2 separate regions of the Homo sapiens genome follow, and region 1 is linked to region 2. Evidence: promoter capture Hi-C in 16 types of primary human blood cells and fetal thymus (Javierre and others, 2016). All regions are on one chromosome and are shown on one strand. Each heading gives the region's core, a stretch centred on a gene start or on the middle of the fragment in contact. The rest is flanking DNA. Distances are from core to core; before and after follow the strand shown. Region 1 holds the start of WDFY4 (WDFY family member 4). Region 2 holds the start of TMEM273 (transmembrane protein 273).

Evidence for each region. Contacts are between HindIII fragments. The CHiCAGO score rates a contact against its expected background, and 5 or more counts as called.
Region 1: a contact is called between the fragment with the promoter of WDFY4 here and the fragment with the promoter of TMEM273 in region 2, in 1 of 17 cell types (neutrophils). The highest score is 6.9, in neutrophils.

The regions. Positions count from the first base shown.
Region 1 is chr10:48,682,665-48,688,282 of GRCh38, reverse strand. WDFY4 (WDFY family member 4) reads right to left here and starts at 3,410. Exons shown (of 62, transcript NM_001394531.1): 1 at 3,282-3,410. RefSeq lists enhancers at 2,620-3,160, 3,179-3,478, 4,409-4,488 and a silencer at 4,139-4,188. The HindIII fragment of the contact is 16,271 bases long and covers 1-5,618 here.
Region 2 is chr10:49,185,914-49,191,144 of GRCh38, reverse strand. TMEM273 (transmembrane protein 273) reads left to right here and starts at 2,754. Exons shown (of 7, transcript NM_001288740.3): 1 at 2,754-2,851. The coding sequence starts at 2,809. RefSeq lists enhancers at 86-305, 766-925. The HindIII fragment of the contact is 10,255 bases long and covers 1-3,153 here.

The DNA of each region.
Region 1 (5,618 bases), core at 2,161-4,660, 500 kb after region 2:
AGGATGGAAGAAGAAAAGAATGGGGAGGCTCTTTCCAGATACCGAAATTTATTATAAACCTGTGGTTAACAATGTTGTCTAGCATTGTCAAAGGGTTAGACAAATTGACAGAATAGAGAACCAGGAAAGACCCCCATGCACATGACAACTCAACTCACAACAGAGCTATCATGGATCAGTGACTAAAGAATGGCCTATTAGGCCGGGTGTGGTGGCTCATGCCTGTAATCCCAGCACTTTGGGAGGCCGAGGTGGGTGGATCACCTGAGGTCAGGAGTTCAAGACCAGCCTGACCAACACAGTGAAACCCCATCCCTACTAAAAAACCCAAAAATTAGACAGATGTGGTGGCGCACGCCAGTAGTCCCAGCTACTGGAGAGGCTGAGGCAGAGGAATCGCTTGAACCTGGGAGGTGGAGGTTGCAGTGAGCTGAGATCGCACCACCGCACTCCAGCCTGGGTGACAGAACAAGAATCTGTCTCAAAAAAAAAAAAAAAAAATTAGCCAGGTGTGGTGGCATGTACCTGTAATCTCAGCTACTAGGGAGGCTGAGGCAGGATAATTGCTTGAACCTGGGAGGTGGAGGTTGCAGTGAGCCAAGATCATGCCATTGCACTCCAGCCTGGGTGACAGAGCAAGACTCCATCTCAAAAAAAAAAAAAAAAAAAAAGAATGGCCTATTAAATAAATGGTGCCAAGACTCTTGGTTATCCATATGGGAAAAGCAGAATAAAATAAAGTTTCTTCCCACCTCACGCCATACACAAAAGCCATTTCCAGGCAGACTAGAGACTTCAGTGTAAAAAGTAATATTATAACATTTTTTGAAAATAATATGAGAATAATTTTACAACCTTATAGTGGAGAATTTCTTAGATAACACATAACAAGTATAAATCATAAAGCGACAGGTGGATAAACTTATTTGAAACTAAGAAATTCAGTCATTAATAAAAACCACAGGAATATAAGGAGACAAGGCACCAACAAATGAAAAATATTTGTTATATATATAAATGACAAAAAGTAGTACCCAGAATATGTATTGAATTATGGCAAATCAATAGGATAAAAGACAGGTAACCCGATGAGAAATGGCCAAAAAATGTGAACAGGAAAAGGGACCCCAAATGGCCAATAAACATATGAAAAAGATGTCCAACCTTAGTAATTTGGTCAATGCAAATTAAAAACATGCTAAGATAGCTTTTCATTTCTACCAGATTGGCAGAAATACAGTACCAGACAATATCAAATGCTGATGAAGAAGTGGAGCAACAGAAACTTTGGTGCATTGCTGAGGGGTGGGTAAAATGAGGCAAAAACTTTGGAAAACAACGTGGTGACATCCAGTAAGGCTGACGATATGTACAACCTATGACCCACCAATTCTATTTCTAGAGTATATACCCAAGATAAATTCTTGCACACATGCCCCAAGATGCATGTACAAAAATAGTTCTAGCGGCACTGCTTATAATAGAAAAAAAAATAAACTCTTGAAATACCTAAAATGCCATCAACAGCATCTCAGATAAATATATTGAGGTACACTCATCTAATAGAATACTGTACTGCAGAAAACTTTAATTATCTACAGGTACATGCAACAATATGAAGAAATTTCAGAAACAAACTTTTGAACCAATTAGGCAAATTTTAAAAGAATATTTAATTCCATGTTTACAGAGTTCAACAACTTGCAATCATACATATATAGCGATTTAAATATGGGATGTAAAATTAGAAAAAGAAGCAAGGGAACAATAAACCCAAAATTCTGGACTGTTGCTGCTTCTGAAGAGGGAAGGTGAAAGATGGGCATGAAGAGGACCTCAGAGATGATGCTGATCTTTAAAAAAATCTAAGGTGTCAGCACACAGGGTTTATGCTGTTTTTATTACTTCTATCTTATTATGGTCTTTCTAAATTTTCTTTTCTTTCCTTCTTTTTTTTTTTTTTTTTTGGAGATGGAGTTTCATCGTGTTGTCCAGACTGGTCTTGAACTCCTGACCTCAGGTGATCTGCCCCTCTCAGCCTCCCAAAGTGCTGAGATTACAGGCGTGAACCACTGCGCCTGGCCGAAATTTTCTTTTCTTTCAACACAGAAAATCTTTCCAAGTTCATGAAAGAATAGCCCATGTGCTCAGGATGGACAGACAGGAAGGGCCTCCCTGACCTGACCCTGTTCCCTACCTCTCTGGCCAGAACCCCAGGCATGCCCCTTACCCGGCTCTGCCACACCAACCTCCACGAGGTCTCCTCCTCCAGACCCTTATCAAGAACACTTCTCAGAAACCCACAGGACTCGGCCTCCCTCACAGGTCCCCTCTCAGAAGACTAGAGCCATCCCCACCCTCCCAAGACCCCCACCCTACCTGCTATTCTCCCACCTGCTGAGCACCGTAGACCCCTGTCCGCTTTGACCAGAGCCTGGCAGGGCGTGGTTTCTCAATACCTATTTGTTAAATAACTAAATGAATGACTATACATAAACTCATATTAAAATTAGTGTGCTCCATGGAAAGGGTAATGCATAGAGCCCTTAGTTATCAAACCAGCCCCCCCACACTTTAGATGAGTTGGGACAAAGGATCGGTTTAGTGTTCTAGAAGTTTCATTTCAGGGGAAAAGAAGAATCAGTCCTTACTGAGCAGGTGGCCCTGCTTAGGCAGAAAATGCAGGCGTTTCAATGGTTTGCTGTAATAATTCAGATGAGGGAAGTGAGCCCAGGGAGGCACCTACTTACCAGAACCCAGTGGAGTAATGACAGGGCCGGGATAGACCAGCTCCCTCTGAGGCCCGTTGGAAATGGCCCTCCAACTCTGCACTCCTCAGAGGCCTATGAGGGAGCTTGGAGGGCGAGCCTCACTGTCCTGTCGGCCTGCTCTCTCCGCCCCCTCGACAACCAGGAAAGCCCGTGTCAGCCCTTCCCAGGGTTCCCTTCATAGCAGGACCCCGAGAAAGGACTTGACCTACCGTCAGAGGTCGAGGAGTGCTGCTGGAGCCCAGCCTGACTCCCAAACTTCAGCAGTGACACACACTCAGGCAGACCCAGGCCCTGGAGTGGCCCTGACCACATGGGCCCCCCACGCCACACACACTTCCTGCTCCCCAGCTCACCTCCTCTCCCACATTCACAAACCCAAACCAGGCACTGGGTCACATGTGCCCCATAGTCAGCCTCCCAGGAGGCAGCCAGTAGGCCCCACGCTGACAGGCGGCGCCCATATGCCCACCTCTAGGCTGGCCTGGCTGGGCCAAGAGCAAGGTGGCCTACCTGGAGGGGTGGCCGTCAGCGCCTGTAGACATCAGAAGGCATGGGCCCCCTATCCCCAGCTGCAGCCCCTCAGGCTCGGGGGAAGAGGACCCGGCCCCACATCGTCAGTCCTCAGCGCCGTTTCACTCTGAATCACTGGAGCTGGGTCTCTGCTCATTTCCTGGAGAAAGCAGAAGTGGAGAGCCGGCAGATGCCTGACTCTGCCCACTCTCCAGCCGACCACGGAGCTGCTGGAGTTCTGGCGGGTGACTTGGGTTCTGCAGCAAGGCCCCTTGGGGCTGGCTGTGCAGCCTCCGTGGTCAAGCGGTGCTGGTTGGGGCCAAGGACAAAATGGAAAGTACAGCCCAGCCCTAGAAGAGTAGGTCTGGATTCTGTGTCCCCTCTTCACTAGCCGTGTGACCACTGGTGCACACCTCTCCTCTCTGGGCCTCTGGCAAAATGAGAACAATGATGGTGTTAGGTGAATCTAATCAGAGGTGTGTTTAAGTGCACCCCTGGACATGGCATGGGTTGGGCAGCCCTCACCCCACCAAGCTCAGAGTTGCCCACTTGGATTTCTTCCTCCCCCATCCTCAGATAGAACTTGAACCACCAATGAGGGGAGTCCTCCTGCGGCCAACACTGAGGCAAGGATGAGAGGACATCTAAAACCATAGAATGGAAGTCTCTGAAACTCAGACTCCAAATTCTCATTCCTCTGAGTATATAAACTAGGCTGAATTATCCATGTCACCTATCCATAACGTCATCTCCACAGTACAAACAAGCATGTCCATTCACACACAATCCTGCTTGTGCTCTGTAAAAGGAGAATTTTGCCAAAGAGCAAGGGCACTTGTTAGCGCTAATGCCTGATCCTTGATCCTCAGTGCAGCTCATCGCTTGTCTCTAGCTCACAAAACCAGTGGACCATGCATGACTGACTGAGAGGCAGCAACAACATCACTTGTTATGACATGGAGTAAAGCTCCAAGATTGGTTTAAAGAGGAAAATAACATTTGTCACAAAACCTCAACCTCCACCAGTGCAAACTTGTCAGTAGACAGCAGCCAAAATAGGAGATCTATCCAGCTGCACTCCAGTCTGGACAGCAAGAGCGAAGCTCCGTCTCAAAAAAAAAAAAAAGAAAAAAAAGAAAAGAAAAGAGAAATTGAAAGGATACATGCAGTGCCAGCCAAGGGAAAGAGAAAACCTTAGAGAATTTGCAGTGAAGTGTTTGTTGTATATGATGAAAACCCCTCGTCATTGTCACCAATGAAATCATAAATAAAATCTACAAGAAGATATTGCCTGAAATCAGAGGCCTATGGTAAGAGCGGATTAGACAGAGGAACTTCCACAGAGGCAGGAAGGGTGGCCAGCATGGGACAGGCCAGGACCCCATGCCTGTGAATGCCCAGAGGAAGCGCGGAGAGTCTGTCATAGTGGGATCTCGCAAAGTCTGCTGGAGGGCCCACCTGCACCCAGGTCTCCTACCTTCTACCCACCCCAGCACCTTGCCGGGTAGCCAGCAGCAGGCAGGTAAAGAGCACTAAATTCAGAGCTAGAAACTCAAGGTTGAAATTCTCACTATCTTAACTGAGATAATTGACATCTTATTTGCAGAATGAATGAATGCCTTGTTAGAAGGAACAAATCAAATAATATTTGCAAGAGAGGTTTTTTTTTTTTGAGACGGAGTCTCGCTGTCGCCCAGGCTGGAGTGCAGTGACGCGATCTCGGCTCACTGCAGGCTCCGCCCCCCGGGGTTCACGCCATTCTCCTGCCTCAGCCTCCTGAGTAGCTGGGACTACAGGCGCCCACCACCTCGCCTGGCTAATTTTTTGTATTTTTAGTAGAGACGGGGTTTCACCGTGTTAGACAGGATGGTCTCGATCTCCCGACCTCGTGATCCGCCCATCTCGGCCTCCCAGAGTGCTGGGATTACAGGCGTAAGCCAGCGCACCCGGCCAAGAGAGTTTTTAAATACTGAAAAGGGCTGTGCAAATGCAAGCTATTATTAGTGAGAGAGTTGCCAAAGCTAAGACACTGAAGCAGCCAGGGCAACTATGAACTGCTAATGTAAATGTGTATTTTTGTTAAAGGGCAATGTAAGATTCTCTGATTTTTAAACAATTGCCCCAAAATGGCAGTTTTACTTCTGCACCCAGTTATGGTGGTGTAACTGGTATAGGACATACCCTCCCATTGAAAGCAACTATAGAATAGTTCAAATACACAAGATAATTGTTTTCAGGCATTGAATAGCAAGACTGTGATCCTTGAGATAAGGAAAACACACAAGGTGAGCCCCACAATTGCCCTGGAGTTTTTTCTAGTGATGCTTTTTCTGCTAT
Region 2 (5,231 bases), core at 1,505-4,004:
CAAATCTGCGTGCTGAATCCTCCCTATCTTTAAATTTGTAAAAATCTGATGCGTAATGATGGTGTTTGGCAGTTTTTTGTGACTTGCACTAAAGGCGTTCACATGAGACATGAATTCTACGAGCTCCCTGGCTGGTCCTGAGGGTGCAGTGCTAAGGACAGAAGAGTCCCAGGCTTGGTGGCCTTGGAAGAGGCCCCACATCCGAGTGAGGGGCAGGATGTCAGAGCTGCCGGAGTGGGGCTCATTCTTTTCTGCTTGTCAGTGCAGTGACCTTCCTCACCTAGATGACCTGGAAAATATTCCTGCCAGGTGGGCTGGAGGCTAGGCCGGCTGAGCATGAGATAAGAAAGTGAAACGACTTCTTTTTTTTTTTTTTTTTTGAGACAGAGTTTCACTCTTGTCGCCCAGGCTGGAGTGCAGTGGCGCAATCTCGGCTCACTGCAACCTCTGCCTCCCGGGTTCAGGCGATTCTCCTGCCTCAGCCTCCCAAATAGATGGGGTGAATTGAATTCTTCATTCAACAAACACCGCTAGGAGCCTGCACTGTGTCAGGTGCTAGGCCAGGTGCCCTGGGCCCTGCCCTCACAAGCTCCTGGGCCAGTGTGAGCCAGTGCCAGGAGCAGCCTCACGGTCAGAACTGGGCGTTCATTACAGGGGTACAGGGTGGGGCATCCGCTCTTCTGGGTGCATTGTGCCACGCCAACAAGACACACACCATCTTGCCAAGGTGCCGTGGCTGGGTGCCAGGGCATCTCGTGAGATTCTAGTTTACGGGGCGTTTTGAGCCTCTGCCTGTCTAAGCAGGGAGCAGACTGCATTTTCCAGACTCGGAGGCTACGGCAGAGTGAAAGCAGAAGTAGCTGCAGATGCTTCCCCTCCTGGGAGTATGTAGGACAGGTCGAGCTCCCAAGGATGTTTGGAGAGGTGTTTGGGAGCAGAAGTTCATGCTGGTGTTTAGGTTGACTCATCCCATGCGAAAGTATTTTGAAATCAGTTGCCGACATTTGAAACTTATTGATTTCATATAAAAACAGAACTGCCTGGTGTGGCTGGAAGCCCTGGGCCTGGCCTGAATGTAGCTCCACCGTCCCCAGCCACTGTCTACAGATTGTCAGGTCTGCACTGGCATTTTCTTTCAATACACTTAGAGGAAAGTGAAATATTTTTCTTACACATGTTCCCATGAACTGGGGCAAAATTAAGAAAACTCCACATATTCCAGGAGAAATAAGAGAGTATGTTTCTTGGTGCAGGTAGAAACTGATCTTAATTTCATCAAATGAATAAAGTGTGGACAGATGGAACTTGAAGGCACCCAGATGAAGCCAATTGCTTCTCTCATGACCAGCCTTCTCCTCTCATGTCCATTATTTATGTGAAACTCAGAAGGAGCCACAGCAGCCATGCAGAAGAACCCAGGGGGCATCTGTGGCACCAGGGCAATCGGACTGCCTCTGGCTGGACCTTGGCAGGGGATGGTACCTGTACACAGAGGGCACATGCAGCCTGAGGGGCATAGGCTGCCAGCCAAAGGCCTGGGTTTCGAGTCCAGCTCTCACATTTACTGCTGCGTGGACTTGGACAGGTTGCATGCTAAGATGGCATTGGGCTCAGTAGCAAGTGCTCACGGTGTTGGCTGCTACCGTTAGGGATTTGACTGAGGGAGCCCAAGAATGAAAAGAGCTCGATTTCTGCCAGCTCAGTTGGGTGGGGGACTCAAGACTTGTCATTAAGTTGATTTATATTTTAAAAAGTGACATTTCCTGCACATTTGGGTTTTTGGCTGAACATCTAAGCATTGTGACAACGTGCAGGTATAAAGGAGTACAGGAGCATAAGGCCTTCAGCCTGCTGGCTGAGCCTGTGTGACTACCAAAGTTCCTCCAGGCTAAGGACCTGGACATGGGGCCTGTAAACTTGGATGGGAAAAAAATTACATCTCTGTTCTCTAACCTCTAAGGAACACTTAGCATCTTCTTCTAATAGTAGTGTGGCAAACGAACCACAGAAACATTACCACCCAGTAACTTTATTTCTGGTAGGAATCACAGGTCTTTCCATCCACATTCCAGCTGTTACAGGTATCTCTCAATATCGATTCCATTTATCACCATGTCGAGATGGTGGTAGCTGTTTCATCTGCTGCCAGATCTTGCTATTTACTGTGTGGATAAATAAGCATGTATATTTCTACTTCACAAGTTTAACAAAATATTTTGATAACTGTGTGTTAATACTACTGATTTCTACTATGATCCTTATCTATTTTAGTTTGGGGATTTAAAAATCTTATTCTGAGAAGAGAGTGATAGGCATTCCTAGACTCAGAGGCTCCCATGGCACAAAAACAGTGACCGAGCTGGACTATTGGCTGGAGGGGCATTTCCTATTTCTGCTCCAAGGCAGAGGCTACTGCAAGGGCTGGACTGCAGGGCAGACCGGCTTTGCCCACATTCCTCTCTGAGACTTACTAGCATGGGTCATTAGGCAAGAAACCGCACCTTACCGAGCTTTGTTCCCACACTCTGTGGGGAAGATTATAGGAGAGAACACTGGGTATAATACCCCAGCATGTACAATGGGTCTAATCACAGCCAGCTTCTGGTGGAGTCCAGAATGACAGGGGCTTCCTTCAGCCCTGTCTTCAGAGAGGCTGAGAGGAACTGAACAGCCTCCTGGCTGTGACAGTGGTTTCCTTCCCCATCAGTCACGTGGGTCTTGTCCTGTCCCCAGAGCCTTGGGTCACATGGCTCATTGTGCCTGCGCTGCCAGCAGCCAGGAGCCAGGAGCCAAGAGCAGAGCGCCAGCATGAACTTGGGGGTCAGCATGCTGAGGATCCTCTTCCTCCTGGGTAAGTGGGGACTGCGGGGGTCTCTGGCCCGGGGGAGCCTCAGTGGGCAGGAAACTGGGGGAGCCTTAGCCCACTGGGGCTTGATCCCTAAAACATAACTCTGTCCCTTTACACAGATGATGTTTCTCACTTTGATCTGGTAGTGAGCAATGATCTTGTTTGTCTCATTCCAGCTGCAACTTACAAATGCTTCTGGGCTAAAGGAGAATAGGAAGGGTCATGGCAGAAGGAGCTTCGGGCTTGGGATCTAGAAACATCTGGGTGTAAACTGTGGCTCCATTGCTGATAAACTAGAATAAGCTTCTGAAACTCCCTAACTTTCTGAACCAATGAGATGGGAGATAATCATGTTTACTTTTTGGGATTTCAAGAGAGTTAAGTTAAATTTAATTAAGTCAAATCAAAATACTGACATAGAATGAGAACATGTAGGCATGTAGATACTGGTATACATTTAATGTTGAATCAGAATTCTCATGCAGTGAAGCAGACTCTTTGCTACTCAGAGGTATCTTTGTTTTTAAAAATTATCTTTAATGCATTCCTTGAAAGAAGGAAGAAAGGAGAGAGGCAAAGACTAAAACAAAGTAGGGCCAAATGGAGGAGAGAAATATAAAGTCAGAGAAGTAGACAGAGAGGAAGAAACTCAAAGAGAGAGAGAGAGAGACAGACAGAGACATAGAGAGATGGTTAGAAATATGCATAGATGGAGACAGAGATGGAGAGAGACACATGCCTTTACGAAGTCCCCTCTGATATCAACTGTTGTTTCCTAAAAAGGCAGCATACGTCCCTCATATATACAAAGACGTTCCTTCCCAGAACTTGCACTGGGCCGAGACTCAATGGGAAGCAGTCTGTCTCCAGATTAAATCTTGTGTCTCCAGACCAATAGGTTGTATCCTGAATGCGGGCAAAGTTAGTGCTGTGGGCAGGTTTCCATCTAAAGTCTGCACTAAGCAGGGGAGAGCAAAGACTTTGGCCTTGGGAGTCAGCATGTCAGACAGACAGCCAGCCACATCATCCATCAGTTTACACATGGAAACGGGCCGTTGGCAGTGACTGTGAAGGGATGTCAGGCACCAGCAAGCAGCGATTAAGGGTGTGCACGGTGGTTAGATGCAGTGTGCCTGCCCAGAGACGTGGTGGAAGGTAAGAGAAGTTGTAACCCTTATTTCTGCTTTTGACTTACCTAGATAAACAAACTAGTCTGTCCTGGTACAAAAAAAGGAAGTTAAATTTAAGAAATCCAATGAAAAATGTGCAAATTATATAAACAGGCAATTCATTGAAGAATCACAGACAATAAAACTTTAAAATGTCCAGTCTCACAAATAATAAAAGATCTAACACCTCCTCGCATTTTTTAGTGTGTCGATGTGCTGGGTGCTCTGCTGAAGATGTTACATGAGCTCATTTGGTTCCCACAGCAACTCTGTGCAATAGGTGCCACAATTACCTGCATGTTATAGATAAGGTTTTAATCACTGGGCCAAGGCATCACAGCTCGTTTCTGCTTTCATATACTATTGATAGAGGTACACAGTGGTTAGGAGTGGGTATCCAGTACGAGACTCCTTAAATGTTCATCCCTGTTCTGTTGTTTACCAGCCTGGAAAACTTGGACAAAGAATTAATCCTCTCTGTGCCCAGTTTTCTCATCTGTAAGTTGGGGACACCTCACAGGACTATTGGGAAAATGAAATCTGTTACCACATTTAAAGCACTTAGCATGGGATGTGATAAGTGGTGAGCACTCACTATTGGATATGAGGGGACTCATTTATTCACTCTCTCCAGAGGGCAATTTGGCAAAATCTGGGTGTCAATGTAAGCGAAATGTAAGATGTTCATAACCCTTCACCCAGAAATTCCACCTCCAGGAATATAACCTGATGAAATAATATGGTAAAACCCTCCCAAAATATTTCACAGGGTATTATTCAACACTGCCGAAACCACGGTGGGAACCAGAAACAAGAGACTATCAGTAGGAATTTGACTAAGTTAATTATGCTTTAGTATTTCCAACAATATCCAATATATTTAGTTGAAAGACATGCCTTTCTATGAGCTGACACGGATGAAACAGAAGTGATGAAGTGATAGTTACAGGTTAGAGTTCCGTAGTAATATTTTGCATGTGTTTAGTCTCCTTCTTCTTCCTCTTTTTCTTCTTCTTCCTCTTCTTCTTCTTCTTCTTCTTCTTCTTCTTCTTCTTCTTCCTCTTCTTCTTCTTCCTCTTCTTCTTCTTCTTTTTCTTCTTCTTCTTCTTCCTCCTCCTCCTCCTCTTCCTCCTCCTCCTTCTTCTTCTTGAGATGGAATTTTGCTCTTGTTGCCCAGGCTGGAGTGCAATGGCGCGATCTCGGCTCACCGCAAC